Linked DNA regions of Homo sapiens: all the other regions are linked to region 3. Evidence: promoter capture Hi-C in 16 types of primary human blood cells and fetal thymus (Javierre and others, 2016). All regions are on one chromosome and are shown on one strand. The core of a region is centred on a gene start or on the middle of the fragment in contact, and the rest is flanking DNA. Distances in the headings are between cores, read along the strand shown.

Evidence for each region. Contacts are between HindIII fragments. The CHiCAGO score rates a contact against its expected background, and 5 or more counts as called.
Region 1: a contact is called between a fragment that was not itself captured here and the fragment with the promoter of HDHD5 in region 3, in 6 of 17 cell types (total CD8 T cells, neutrophils, naive CD8 T cells and 3 more). The highest score is 9.0, in total CD8 T cells.
Region 2: a fragment that was not itself captured here is called in contact with the fragment with the promoter of HDHD5 in region 3 in 1 of 17 cell types (naive B cells); the score reaches 5.3 in naive B cells.
Region 4: a fragment that was not itself captured here is called in contact with the fragment with the promoter of HDHD5 in region 3 in 1 of 17 cell types (naive B cells); the score reaches 6.7 in naive B cells.
Region 5: a contact is called between a fragment that was not itself captured here and the fragment with the promoter of HDHD5 in region 3, in 15 of 17 cell types (M0 macrophages, M2 macrophages, M1 macrophages and 12 more). The highest score is 29.4, in M0 macrophages.

Annotation. Positions count from the first base shown.
Region 1 is chr22:17,635,851-17,638,550 of GRCh38, reverse strand. It overlaps a transcript of BCL2L13 not described here. Among named protein-coding and RNA genes, the nearest start is that of BCL2L13, 1.6 kb to the left of the region's middle. RefSeq lists enhancers at 1-132, 183-232, 1-656, 657-1,529. The HindIII fragment of the contact is 6,545 bases long and covers 1-2,700 here.
Region 2 is chr22:17,481,153-17,483,852 of GRCh38, reverse strand. The region is part of intron 2 of CECR2 (CECR2 histone acetyl-lysine reader); the gene reads right to left. Among named protein-coding and RNA genes, the nearest start is that of SLC25A18, 81 kb to the left of the region's middle. The HindIII fragment of the contact is 8,324 bases long and covers 1-2,700 here.
Region 3 is chr22:17,157,850-17,160,549 of GRCh38, reverse strand. HDHD5 (haloacid dehalogenase like hydrolase domain containing 5) reads left to right here and starts at 1,273. Exons shown (of 8, transcript NM_033070.3): 1 at 1,273-1,424. The coding sequence starts at 1,299. It overlaps HDHD5-AS1 (HDHD5 antisense RNA 1), which reads right to left and starts at 1,161. Exons shown (of 2, transcript NR_024483.1): 1 at 713-1,161. RefSeq lists a silencer at 1,262-1,591. The HindIII fragment of the contact is 6,885 bases long and covers 1-2,027 here.
Region 4 is chr22:17,435,290-17,437,989 of GRCh38, reverse strand. All of the region lies in intron 1 of CECR2 (CECR2 histone acetyl-lysine reader), which reads right to left. Among named protein-coding and RNA genes, the nearest start is that of CECR2, 67 kb to the right of the region's middle. RefSeq lists an enhancer at 1,864-2,424. The HindIII fragment of the contact is 656 bases long and covers 1,021-1,676 here.
Region 5 is chr22:17,498,238-17,500,937 of GRCh38, reverse strand. It overlaps CECR2 (CECR2 histone acetyl-lysine reader), which reads right to left. Exons shown (of 19, transcript NM_001290047.2): 4 at 1,389-1,528; 5 at 203-307. Among named protein-coding and RNA genes, the nearest start is that of SLC25A18, 64 kb to the left of the region's middle. The HindIII fragment of the contact is 1,589 bases long and covers 632-2,220 here.

The DNA of each region.
Region 1 (2,700 bases), core at 51-2,550, 480 kb before region 3:
CGGAGTCGAGGGGTTGGGATTCTGACCGGCTGGTCGCTGTGTTGGAGGAAGGGCAGGCGATTCCAGGGAAAGAAGCCTTGCTGCATGCACAGGCTATGTTCAGTTCCACAAACATGTATTGCGTTTCAAGTGTTTGCCAAGGGAGCAGGTCAAATAAGTATCTACACAGTCACGACAGCCTCGATGTTCGCCACTAGTTGGGGCAGATGGTCCTTGAAGGTTGGGAAGGAATTCCGGGGAGGGAATATAGCGGGGTGGTGTAGAGAGGTCCTCCTAGGCGAAGGGAACTGGCTGAGCAGAGGCGCCAGGGCATGAAGGAAGTCTTAACTAGTAACCCGCTTTTGTTAACAGTACCTGGAACACACAGCGCCTGGAACATACTTAACTTGTATTAATGGATGTTTGTTTACTTGAATCCGAGAGTTCTTTGGAGGAGTATCGGAAGGTATCTAGGAGAGAGGATACAGTGTGTTTTAGGGAGATCAAATTGCCCGTGGTGTGTGTACTGAATTGGAACAAGGAGGGCATTGACAATAAGGAGTTAGAAGACTGAGCCAGATCAGAAGTGATAAAATCCTGATGGGGAGTGACTGCCAGTGGATACAGAGTTTCTTTTTGGGGTGATGGTGGCACGACTCTTTGAAATACTGAAAACTACTGAATTGTACACTATAGGTGAATTCTATGTTATGAGATCTATATCTCAACAAGGCTATTCTAAAGGAAGTGATAAAAGAGTTGAACTGCTATTGTGGGGCTGGTGCCACAGGATGCTTTTTAAGCCCGAGTGACTGAGGAAAGGATGGTGCCATTAATAGGGACATAAAGTTTTGCAAAGGAAAGGCTTAGTGACCTTGGAAAACTAATAGTACAGGCCGGGTGTGGTGGATCACTCCTGTAATCCCAGCACTTTGAGAAGCCAAGGTGGGCGGATCACTTGAGGTCAGGAGTTTCAGACCTGCCTGGCCAACATGGTGAAACTCCCCATCTGTACTAAAAACACAAAAAATTAGCCAGGTATGGTGTCACGCGCCTGTAATCCCAGCTACTTGGGAGGCCGATGCAGGAGAATCGCTTGAGCCTGGGAGGCAAAGGTTGCAGTGAAATGGGTAACCAAAAATGAAGACTTTTTTTTTTTTTTTTTGAGGCAGAGTCTCACTCTGTCGCCCAGGCTGGAGTGCAGGGGCGCGATCTCAGCTCACTGCAACCTCTGCCTTTCGGGTTCAAGCGATTCTCCTGCCTCAGCCTCCCAAGTAGCTGGGATTACAGGCACCCACCACCATGCCCAGCTAATTTTTGTATTTTTAGTAGAGGCAGAGTTTCTCCACGTTGGTTAGGCTGGTCTTGAACTCCTGACTTCAGGTGATCCACTCGCCTTGGCCTCCCAAAGTGCTGGGATTACAGACGTGAGCCACCGTGCCTGGCTTTTTAAAAATTTTTAATAGAGACGGGGTCTCACCATGTTGGCCAGGCTAGTCTCCTACTCCTGACCTCAAGAGATCCGCCTGCCTCAGCCTCCCAAAGTGCTGGGATTACAGGGGTGCGCCACCGCGCCCGGCCCTAATTTTACTTTTAAGGTCTGTGCAGTTCACTGTATGTACACTTTACCTAAAAAAACTTTCAAAAATGTAACATGCAATAATTTATTTTGGGAGGTACTTATGTTACCAATTTGGTACATACTTAAGTTCATTTCTTTCACATTGCTCTCAGTCTTTTCCTTTATTTATTTATTTATTTTTTATTATTATTTTCTCGAGACAGAGTCTTGCTCTGTCACCCAGGCTGTAGTGCAATGGCGCGATCTCAGCTCACTGAACCTCACCTCCTGGGTTCAAGCGATTCTCCTGCTTCAGCCTCCTGAGTAGCTGGGATTACAGGCACCCACCACCACACCTGGCTAATATTTTTTTTTTGTATTCTTAGTAGAGATAGGGTTTCGCCATGTTGGCCAGGCTGGTCTCCAACTCTTGGCCTTGGGTGATCACCCCTCTCGGCCTCCCAAAGTGCTGGGATTACAGTCGTGAGCCACCATGCCTGGTCTTATTTATTTTTTTAGAGACAAGGTGTCGCTTCTGTTACCCAGCCTGGAGTGCAGTGGTACAATCATACCTCACTGCATCATGGACCTCCTGGGCTCACAATTGTTCCACCTCAGCCTCCCAAGTATCAAGGACCACAGGCTTGTGCCACCACATGTAGCTTTTTTTTTTTTTTTTCTTTTTTTTGAGACGGAGTCTCCCTCTGTTGCCTGGGCTGGAGTGCAGTGGCAGATCTTGGCTCACTGCAACCTCAGCCTCCTGGGCTCAAGTGATTCTCCTGCCTCAGCCTCCAAAGTAGCTGGGACTACAGGTGTGCACCACTATGCCTGGCTACATTTTGTATTTTTAGTAGAGACGGGGTTTCAGTGTGTTGGCCAGGCTGCTCTCGAACTCCTGACCCCAAGTGATCCACCCACCTCAGACTCCCAAAGTGGTGGGATTACAGGCGTGAGCCACCGCCCCAGGCCACACATGGCTACTTTTTAAAAGATGTTTTTGTAGGCCGGGCGTGGTGGTTCACGCCTATAATCCCAGCACTTTGGGAGGCCAAGGGGGACGGATCACGAGGTCAGGAGATGGAGACCATCCTGGCCAACACAGTGAAACCCCGTCTCTACTAAAAATACAAAAAATTAGCTGGGCATGGTGGCGCGCACCT
Region 2 (2,700 bases), core at 6-2,505, 320 kb before region 3:
TTGCTCTGGGTGAATCAGTAACTGAGTAGTAAATGAATGTGAAGGCTTGGCACATGACTGTACATCACTGTAAACTTTCTAAATGCTGTAAACTTAGGCTATACTATGTTTATTTTAAAAAAAACCTTTCCTTCAATAATAAATTTAGCTTACTATGACATTTAAAAATTCACAAACTTTTAACTTTTTGATTCTTTTGTAATAACAGCCTAAAACACTTTTTAGAGCTATACAAAAATATTTTTTTCTTTTTTTTTCTGCTCTGTAGCCACAGCTAGAGTGCAGTAGGGACCGTAGCTCACTGCAGCCTCCAACTCCTGATCCTCCCACCTCAACCTCCCTAGTAGCTTAGACTACATGCATGCACCACCATGTCCAGATAATTATTTTAATTTTTTTAGTAGAGACAGGGGTCTTGCTATATTGCCCAGCTAATTCATTTATTTTTATTTTTTAGTAGAGACGGAGTCTTGCTATGTTGCCCAGGCTGGTCTCGAACTCCTGGCCTCAAACCGTCCTCTCACCTCATCCTCCCAGAGTGCTGGGATTACAGGCATGAGCCACTGTGTGGCGGCCTTCTTTATATCCTTATTCTATAAGCTGTTTTCTATTGTTGAAATTTTTTGTTTTTTACATTTGATCTGTTTTGTTCAAAAGGAAGACAAAAACACACACATCGGCCTAGGCCGACACAGGGTCAGGATCATCAATATTACTGTCTTCCACCTCGACATCTTGTCCCACTGGAACGTCTTCAAGGCAGTAACATGCACGGTGCTGTCATCTCCTGTAACAATGCCTTCTTCTGGAATCTCTTCTGAAGGACCGCCTGAGGCTGTTGTATATTATAGTTAACTTTTTAAAAATAACTAGGCTGGGCGCGGTGGCTCACGCCTGTAATCCCAGCACTTTGGGAGGCCAAGGTGGGAGGATCACGAGGTCAGGAGATCGAGACCATCCTGGCTAATGCGGTGAAACTCCGTCTCTACTAAAAATACAAAAAAAGTAGCAAGGTGTGGTGGTGGGCACCTGTAGTCCCAGCTGCTGGGGAGGCTGAGGCAGGACACCGTCTCAAAAAAAAAAAAAAAAAAGGAGTTCAAAACCATCATGGCCAACATGATGAAACCCTACCTCTACCCCAAAATAAAGAAATTAGATGGGCCTGGTGGTGCACGCCTGGAGTCCCAGCTACTTGGGAGGCTGAAGTGGGAAGATCGTTTGAGACCAGGAGGTGGAGATTGCAGGGAGCCAAGACTGCACCACTGCACTCCAGCCTGGGTGCCAGAGTGAGACCCCGTGTCAAAAAAACTAAACAAAACTAGAAGGAATACACTCTAAAATAATGATTTAAAGTACGGCACAGTAAATACAGAAACCAGTAAGAGTTGTTTACTATCAACTATTATGTAGTGTACATGACGGTATATGCTATGTCTTGTCTCGCTCTGTCGCCCAGGCTGGAGTACGGTGGCATGATCTTGGCTCACTGCAAGCTCTGCCTCCTGGGTTCACGCCATTCTCCTGCCTCAGCCTCCCGAGTAGCTGGGACTACAGGCACCTGCCACCACGCCCGGCTAATTTTTTGTATTTTTAGTAGAGACGGGGTTTCACCATGTTAGCCAGGATGGTCTCGATCTTCTGACCTTGTGATCCACCTGCCTCAGCCTCCCAAAGTGCTGGGATTGCAGGCGTGAGTCACCATGCCACGCCCTTTTTTTTTTTTTTTTTTTTTTTTTTGGAGACAGAGTCTCGATCTGTCACCCAGGCTGGAGAGCAGTGGCGTGATCTCGGCTTCCTGCAAGCTCCGCCTCCCAGGTTCATGCCATTCTCCTGCCTCAGTCTCCCGAGTAGCTGGGACTACAGGTGCCGCCACCACGCCCGGCTACTTTTTTGTATCTTTAGTAGAGATGGGGTTTCACTGTGTTAGCCAGGATGGTCTTGATCTCCTGACCTGGTGATCCGCCCGCCTCGGCCTCCCAAAGTGCTAGGATTACAGGCGTGAGCCACCACGCCTGGCCTGTAAGTGCTAGGTCTTTATATGACTGGTAGCGCACTAGGTTTGTTTACACCAGCATCACCATAACCACATGAGTAATGCATGTGCAAGCATGTTACAAGGGCAATAATATCTCTAGGGGATAAAAATTTTTGTGTCTATCACAACCTCGTGTGACCACTGTCGTACATGAGGTCTGCCACTGAACAAAATGACAGTATGTGATGCATGCCTGTATTGACTATCTGGCCCTTTACAAAAAACATTTGCTGGCCCCTGTTCTAAAACATGCAAACCACAACGGAAAAGGATACAGACACTTGGTTGAGTCAAAATCTGTTTTCTGCTGAGCCTTTGGAGGAACTAGGCATAGTGTTTCATGATGATTACTCTCACTCATCATTTCGTTTAATCCTCATAATAACTTTACTGAATATTGTCACTAATTCCATTTTATAGATGAGGCGAATTATGCACAACTAAATGAAGTTACTTTTTTTTTTTTTTTTTTTTTGAGACAGAGTCTCGCTCTGTCACCCAGGCTGGAGTGCAATGACACGATCTTGGCTCACTGCAACCTCCACCTCCCGGGTTCACGCCATTCTCATGCCTCAGCCTCCCAAGTAGCTGGGACTACAGGCGCCCACCACCACGCCCGGCTAATTTTTTGTATTTTTAGTAGAGACGGGGTTTCACCGTGTTAG
Region 3 (2,700 bases), core at 24-2,523:
AGCCTCCCGAGTAGCTGGGACTTGAGGCGCCTGCCACCGCGCCTGGCTAATTTTTGCAGTTTTCAGCAGAGACGGGGTTTCACCATCTTGGCTAGGTGGTCTTGAACCCCTGACCTCCTGATCCACTCGCCTCAGTCTCCCAAAGTGCTGGGATTACAGGTGTGAGCCACCGCACCCGGCCCTATTTTATTATTTTTAAAATAGAGAAGGGGTCTCCCTATGTTGCCCAGGCTGGTCTGGAACTCCTGGACTCAAGTTTTCCTCCCACCTTGACCTTCCAAAGTTCTGGGATTACAGGGGTGAGCCACCGCACCCTGGCCTGCTAATGTGTGAGCTAGTGCAGTCTCTGTCCATATCCTCGACTCCCTCTCTGCTAGTGCTAAGTACATTGTAGGGTCCCGCGTTTTTAGCATAGCTATACCTATGAATGGGCCAAAGAATCTGAGGGCATCCTACACATTTCAAACGGTGGGAATGGAGACCTCTTTCCTCCAGCAGAATCTCCCCTCATGACCGGGGGACTACCAGATCCAGCTCTGCTAAGGGCCTCCACGGACGGAGTCGGCTACCTCTCCACTTTCAGTGACCGAAATCCATTCTTTGTTCATTCACCCTTGTGTCTACTCCGGGAAACGCGCAGCGGACACAGTCGTGTTCCCTAAGTGTTTGCTGACTTAGTCATCTGGCCCTCTCTGGAGTAGTCATTTTGTACCTTGTACTACATTCGTGCCTCTACCTCTCCGCAGTGCGCGCGGGGGCGGACTCACGTGCGCAGTCTCCCTATGCGCTGGGAGGGCGTCAGCAGGTTTACAGAAACAATGAAAGACTTAACAATTGGCGCGCGACGAGCGTCCCTTGACTGGCAGGGGCCCAGAGGACCTGAACATCACTAAGGGTCTGCCCCAGCGGCCCGGCCCTGAAGTCAAGGTTGAGACCCCCGGCCCAGACAGTCCGCGAAGCTGAGGGAGGCCGGCCTGGGGCCTGCCGCGCAATGTTACCGGGATCCGCAGGCACAGGGCGATAGTACGGACGCCGCCGCCCAGGCCGTGCCCATTGTGCGCCGCGGCCAGCTCACCGCGATCTCGGTCTAGGAGGCGGCGGGACCCCGCACTTCTTCCTTGCAACGGAGCCCCTTTGGCCTGCGGGTCGAGTTCCATAGGCGCCCGACGGGCTCCGCGCGCTTACAGGACTACAACTCCCGTGATGCCGCGCGCGCCGACCGCTGATTGGCTGTGCAGCGGACGGACTCGCGGGGGGGGGGGGCCGCACGCCGTGCACGTGCGCACGGCGACGGCCGGATGGCTGCGTGGGGCTGTGTGGCTGCGCTCGGCGCGGCGCGTGGGCTTTGCTGGCGGGCGGCGCGCGCGGCTGCGGGGCTCCAGGGCCGCCCCGCCCGCAGGTGCTATGCTGTGGGCCCCGCTCAGGTGAGGACGTCCGGGTTCTGGCCGAGCCACTCGCCACTCAGGGCCGGAGGCGGGGCGGGGAGCCGCGGGGAAGGAGGGGCGGCCGGGCTGGTATCCCAGCCTCCTGGGAACTGCCTGGACCGTCGTCGCGCCCGAGTGCATCGCGTTCTTGCTGGAGGGCGGATGCGCCCTGCCTTCCTCTGACTCGCTGGCGGCCTCGGAAACGCTACTCCCGCGGGAGAGCGCTCGTGGGACGGCCTGGGCCAGGCTGCTTGTCAGCCCCTGCGCTTCCCGGCAGTTTCCGCGTCCCTGTTTTCCCTGCGCGTCTTCTGATTTCCACCATGAGGACGTTTGGGTCGTGATTTTCATCTGCATGTGGAGGAAACTGGGCCGCGCGCCGGGAGCCGCGCCTGCGGGTGCTCCGCCCCCAAGTGCCTGTGGGTTTGGTGCGGGCCTTGGGTTCAGTTCAGCTCGCTGTGACCTCGACTGAGCGCTGGAGGCTCCGCGGGCGGGAGCAGGAGGGCTGGAGCCGGCGCCTGCTGTGTGCCCGGCGCGGTAGTGATGTGTGAGCCTCCCCGCAACTTCTGAGAAGGTGTGACCTTGTGTGGTCAGGAAGCCGAAGCTTGACGAGTTTTCAAGTACGTTTTCTCAGGTCCTGCAGCTGGGAGACGGCACAGGACACTAAACCAGGTTGGTCAGATCCACGGCTCTCACGCTCCCTTGGGCCGTTTTGCCTTTTCTGGAAAAAGGAATCACTTTGTCTTCTAAACGCACAAGTAATATTTTACATTAACATACGGATTTCACAGTAATCCTTGCATTTTTTTTTTTTAGACGGCATCTCTGTCACCAGGTTGGAGTGCAGTGGCGCAATCTCTGCTCACTGCAACCTCCGCCTCCCGGGTTCAAGCGATTCTTCTGTCTCAGCCTCCCGAGTAGCTGGGATTACAGGCACCCGCCACCACATCCGGCTAATTTTTGTATTTTTAGTAGAGACAGGGTTTCACCATGTTGGCCAGGCTGGTCTCGAACTTTTGACCTCAGATGATCCTCACATCTTGGCCTCCCAGAGTGGTGAGATTACAGGCATGAGCCAGTGCACCCGGCCAAATTACTTGCATGAAAAAAACACATAGTGCTTACTTTGTGCCAGGCACTATTCTAAGTACTTCACAGTTATTCGTATAATCTTTATAACAACTCCGAGGAAAGTACTATTATTAGTCTTCCCATTTTATAGATGGAGCAGAGGCACAGAGAGGTTAAGCAGCTTACCCAAGGGCACACAGCTGGTAAG
Region 4 (2,700 bases), core at 99-2,598, 280 kb before region 3:
TTTCATTAACATTAAAGTCTCATTTCTATTACTCCACAAAAGAAACTTTGTCCTTTTAAACTATTAAGTTACAGTGAGTAACATCCATCTTTCAAATTCATGGTCAACATTGGTTAACATTCACACTATACATCCTTGAAGTCGAAGGAAATTTTTCCTTTTATCTTTGTAGACACTATGGAAAACCTTCATCACTCCTGCTAAGAAGCAGTGATGCTCACCTTGCATTTTAAAGTCTGACAAACTTTAAAATTTTTTTTAATCCCTATACTATTTAGAAATTTCTATGGTCAACAGTGTGACACCTTGATAAGTCAAAGCATACATAAAAAGAAGTCATAAAAAAGCAGGAACTCCTACTTACAAAGTATGTCTACAGTAATATACTATGAAAAATCTATTTCAGGTCCTCAGTGATGGTATGGATGGGGAGGTACATAATGAAAAAGAAATATCATATGATCAAAAACATGTCGAGGAAGTGTACGTATGTGAGTTCCAATAAGCTGGAATTTAAATAGAAAGGTTGAAGTCACAGCAAGTAGATGAAAGGCGGCCCCTTTAACATTTGCTCCTGGAGTCCAGCAACTCTCAGCAGTTGGCTGGAGACTAAGCTGGCCGATCCTGTGGAGCTTCAACAAAGGGACGAAACAAACTGAGTCCCCAGGGCCCCCCTCCCGACAACGCGTGAAACAACTTGATAAATGATTGCTCTGTCAGGGGATGAGGAGATGGAGACGTCTGGGAGCAGAGGGGGAATGTATCTAATTTAGGAGGCCAAGGGGGAAGGGGAAGACATGGAAGGCAGAACCGCAGACAGGGGCAAGACCATCTAATGGCACTAACACTCGAGCAGAGAACTAGAAACAAACACCAGACAACCCAACAGCATCTCTGAGAGCTGCAGTCATCAGACTGCAGCAAGAGACTTGTCAGAGGCCAGTTCTCCCCAAGTCACTAGGATTTTAAAAGGAAAGTTTTCACCTTCCACAACCCATTCTCCAGCCTCAAGGCCAAGCTTCAGAAAGTGCTGCTCTCATATTACTTCATTCATTTGGGGATGACATGAAATACAAAATCCTTTTCCCCACCCCCAGTTCCTGCCTAAAGATTGCTGATTCAGGCCTGAAAGCCAGAGGCGCAAGAGCCCAAGGCTTAGCTCACTTAAGGAAACATTAATTACCCTGAAACAAAAATAGGAGTTCACATCTGGGGCTCAACACTTACCTTCTCCTCCGCCCCTTTTTCTAGAGTGTGAGCACCCGCTATTTATACAACCTCTTCCTGACTGAGGACTGATACTGGTCCCGCAGGACTTCCCTGTCTGGGGAGAACTTACTGGTGACAAACTCAGTCAGCATTGCACAGGCATTTCAGAAGTAGGAACAGAGGCAGCTCAACTTGAGAAAAAGGTTGTCAGAATTGGAAGTAGTACAAAAGCAGTTTCCCACAGAGTAGCTGGTTAATTCATAAGGGATACTCTGGCAGCTTAAGCATCTGATGAAAGACCATTAAGGAAGTTTACAAGTCAAAGGTGGGAACAAGCAACCCAAGTCTTTCTTCCGTCACTCCAGTTTCTTATTTTAGGAACTAGAGACAGCTAATGTTGTTGCTATAATAGAAGTGCTGTGTTGTATTATTGTGCATAGAACTTTATTTAAATGTTGAATTAAGCTTGGGCTGTAGTTGGCATAATTTAAGCTAACAGCAAATGGTACATCAAGAAACTAAAGGCCGGGTGCAGTGGCTCACACCTGCAATCCCAGCACTTTGGGAAGCCGAGGCGGGCAGATCACGAGATCAGGAGATCAAGACCATCCTGGCTAACACCGTGAAACCCCGTCTCTACTAAAAATATAAAAAATTAACTGAGCGTGGTGACACGCACCTGTAGTCCCAGCCACCCAGGAGGCTGAGGCAGGAGAATCTCTTGAACTCAGGAGGCGGAGGTTGCAGTGAGCTGAGATGGTGCCACTGCACTCCAGCCTGGGTGACAGAGCGAGACAGACAGAGGGAGGGAGGGAGGAAGGGAAAGAAAGAAGGTAAAGAAAAGAAAAGAAAGAAACTAAAGTTTCAAAAAATTTACCTTTGCTTTGCCCAGCACCCTTGGAGGATGACTGATAATTCATAGCTATGACCCCAAATCTAATTTAGTACAGTGTGTTTCAGAACATCTGATGTATTAATTAATTTGGCCAGAGAGACACTGTATAAGGGATGGGATGACTATGAGAAAAAATCACCGTTTCACTGGATTAAGTTGGATGGTCCTGCTCCTGTTTTTTTTTTTTTTTTTTTTTTTTTTAAGAATTAAAAGAGCTCAAGGGAGTCTATTCTAGACTCCCTAGAATGTGTTTGTGGCCTGTCCAGAATTTTCACTGGACCAAACAAAAATAGAACTTGCTAATTCCCCAGACATCTTTCTTGTCAGGTTACACAGTTCAAAAGGTGCTGAGGGCTTCCTAAACTTAGAGATGAGAGAAGAGGCACTGCACCATGGATCTAACTTTTGTGAATTCTAATCAGCAATTCACAAAAGTGAGATCTTACAATTATAAAACCCGGTCTCCAAATTCTACCTTGCTTTCCGATCTTTCTGCCAAGGTCTGAGTCTTAGAAATATTAGCAAATTCCTGTTCATGGACTGTCAATCTGAAAAGACTGTCAACTAGTCAGTTTCATGGAATGCATAAGAAATTG
Region 5 (2,700 bases), core at 177-2,676, 340 kb before region 3:
AGAGAGGGGAGGTGACTTGCCAGATGTCACACACTAAGGGCTTCCTGACTGTACTGCACATGTGGTAATTTCATAAGGACTCAGTTTCAGGTTGCTATAATAATGTGCTTCCCATGGCACAGGCAAAATAAAGAAAAAGGAATAAATGAATTAAGGTCCCTTCTGCCATGGTCTATGACCACAACTAACAAGATTTTCTTACCTCAACAGAATCTCCTCCTGCAGTTTCTTCCGTTTTGGGGGTCTTCCTCTTCTTTTTCCCGTTTTTCCAGGAATACTTGAGACATTTTTTTGTCCTTCACTTTCCCTAATAAATAATATTAAATAGAAATGTTCTGGCACAGGATTGGCATTGCTACATATGATTTTAAAACAGTATTTCTGGCCATGAGATTACCAAAAAGGATTAAATGTAGCAGTGAAAGGAAAAGGGAACAGCAACTTCCAGTCTTCATTATTAGACTGTGGATCTGAGGAAAACTAACATTTTGCAATACTAAAATGTGCTTAAGATCTAACTAACACCTTCCGAAGAGTAAGCATTCTCCTAGCAGTAAGAAAGCCTAAATAAGAGGTTAGCATTGTTTTGGGATGCTATGGAAATGCGGCCTCTTCCTTACTTAGTAAAGCTTATGTTTCAGGCATCATTTAAATTCCTTCTGTTCTTAAACTGATGGATACTAACGTTCATAAACTACATCATTAAATTCTTTTTTTTTTTTTTTTTTTGATGGAGTCTCGCTCTGTCGCCCAGGCTGGAGTGCAGTGGTGCGATCTCGGCTCACTGCAAGATCAGCCTCCCGGGTTCACACCATTCTCCTGCCTCAGCCTCCCGAGTAGCTGGGACTACAGGTGCCCGCCACCACGCCTGGCTAATTTTTTGTATTTTTAGTAGAGACAGGGTTTCACCGTATTAGCCAGGATGGTCTCGATCTCCTGACCTCGTGATCCGCCCGCCTCGGCCTCCCAGAGTGCTGGGATTACAGGCATGAGCCACTGCGCCTGGCATAAACTACATCATTAATTCTAGTCGAAATAAGGAGATCTCAAGGACTGATGATGCAAGATGAAATTGTTACTGCAGTGAAATGATTGTGCTGCTGAGAAGAAACCTGCTATATTAAAATAGCCTGTGGCAAGAGGAGTGGCATTTCTCAGAAACCTCCTATCAAGAACTTCAGATTAAAAAAGTATATTTAACCCCTCTGGTAGCAGAGAATTAATTCCTTTTTGTTTTTGCATGAAGTATCTCCTTACCATCTCTTTGCAGGCATGCTTAGAGAATTCCTTCATTAGGAAAAAAAAATTGTGCTGTAGAATTCTGATGCATTTAATCTTAATGACATTTTAATACAGTAGCTATCATGCCCTAACACTGAAGAACATACCTGCTCAAAGAGAGTTCTCCATTGGATTTTCCTTGCACCGGGTCCTCTTTGTACATTCGTGTTCCATAGAAATACCAATATAGTGCCCCAGAATTGTCTTCACCCAATGGCTCCACACGGAGACTGTCTGCATCCAGGCCCTACACAGAGCACGGAAAAGGGGTTTGGGGAAATGGGGAACAAAACGCACCAGGAAAAAACCAGAACGAGGATTCCAAATTTACACGTAAGCATAACTCAAATCTAAAAATGCCCAAGTATCGCTGGGCGTGGTGGCTCACGCCTGTAATCCCAGCACTTTGGGAGGCTGAGGCGGGCAAATCATGGGGTCAGGAGTTCAAGACCAGCCTGGCCAACATGGTGAAACCCCACCTCTACTAAAAATACAAAAAATCAGCTGGGCGTGGTGGCGCGCGCCTGTAATCCCAGCTACTCGGGAGGCTGAGGCAGGAGAATCGCTTGAACCTGGGAGGTGGAGGTCGCAGTGAGCCAAGATCATGCCACTGCACTCCAGCCTGGGCGACAGAGAGAGACTCTGTCTCAAACAATAAATAAATAAATAAATAAATAAAAATGTCCAAGTATCTTATGTAATTTTCAATCAGCATAAGAAACACGGATATAATGGGAAGGTGGTACCTACTTTGAGGAACAAGAGATGGAAATATTACAATGCTCCCTATCCCCACCATTGTTCCCTTTTCAAAAAAGAGAGAATCCAACAGCAATCCTGATGAACAGTTTACAGATTTGGCTGGGAGCGGTTGTTTTATGTGAGCACACACGAAAAGAAAGACAAGTACAACCGGGTGGATCAGGCACGGGGCAAGCTTTGCCCCATGGGATCCTCTGTGGCAGTTCCGGCATAACCTCCTGTGACCTCTCACTCCAGCTGAGTTCCAGTGACAGGGCTCCCAATTTACCTCGGGGGCTGACCTGTACTGGCCTTCTCACTGCTACTGAAGTCCTTGAGTCCTCAGCAAAGACCGTGCTAAATTACACAATGATTTTTTTATAATGTGCCCATAACCAGAGCTCAACTGAGAAGTCATCACCACATTTAATCACTGATGATGGAACAGGATTAGAAACTGACTTCCCTATGAGTGAAAGCAATAACCCACACTCTCCCTTGAGGATATACTTTTTTTTTTTTTTAAAGACGGAGTCTCGCTCTGTCACCCAGGCTGGAGTGCAGTGGCGCAATCTCGGCTCACTGCAAGCTCCGCCTCCCGGGTTCATGCCATTCTCCTGCCTCAGCCTCCCGAGTAGCTGGGACTACAGGCGCCTGCCACCACGCCCGGCTAATTTT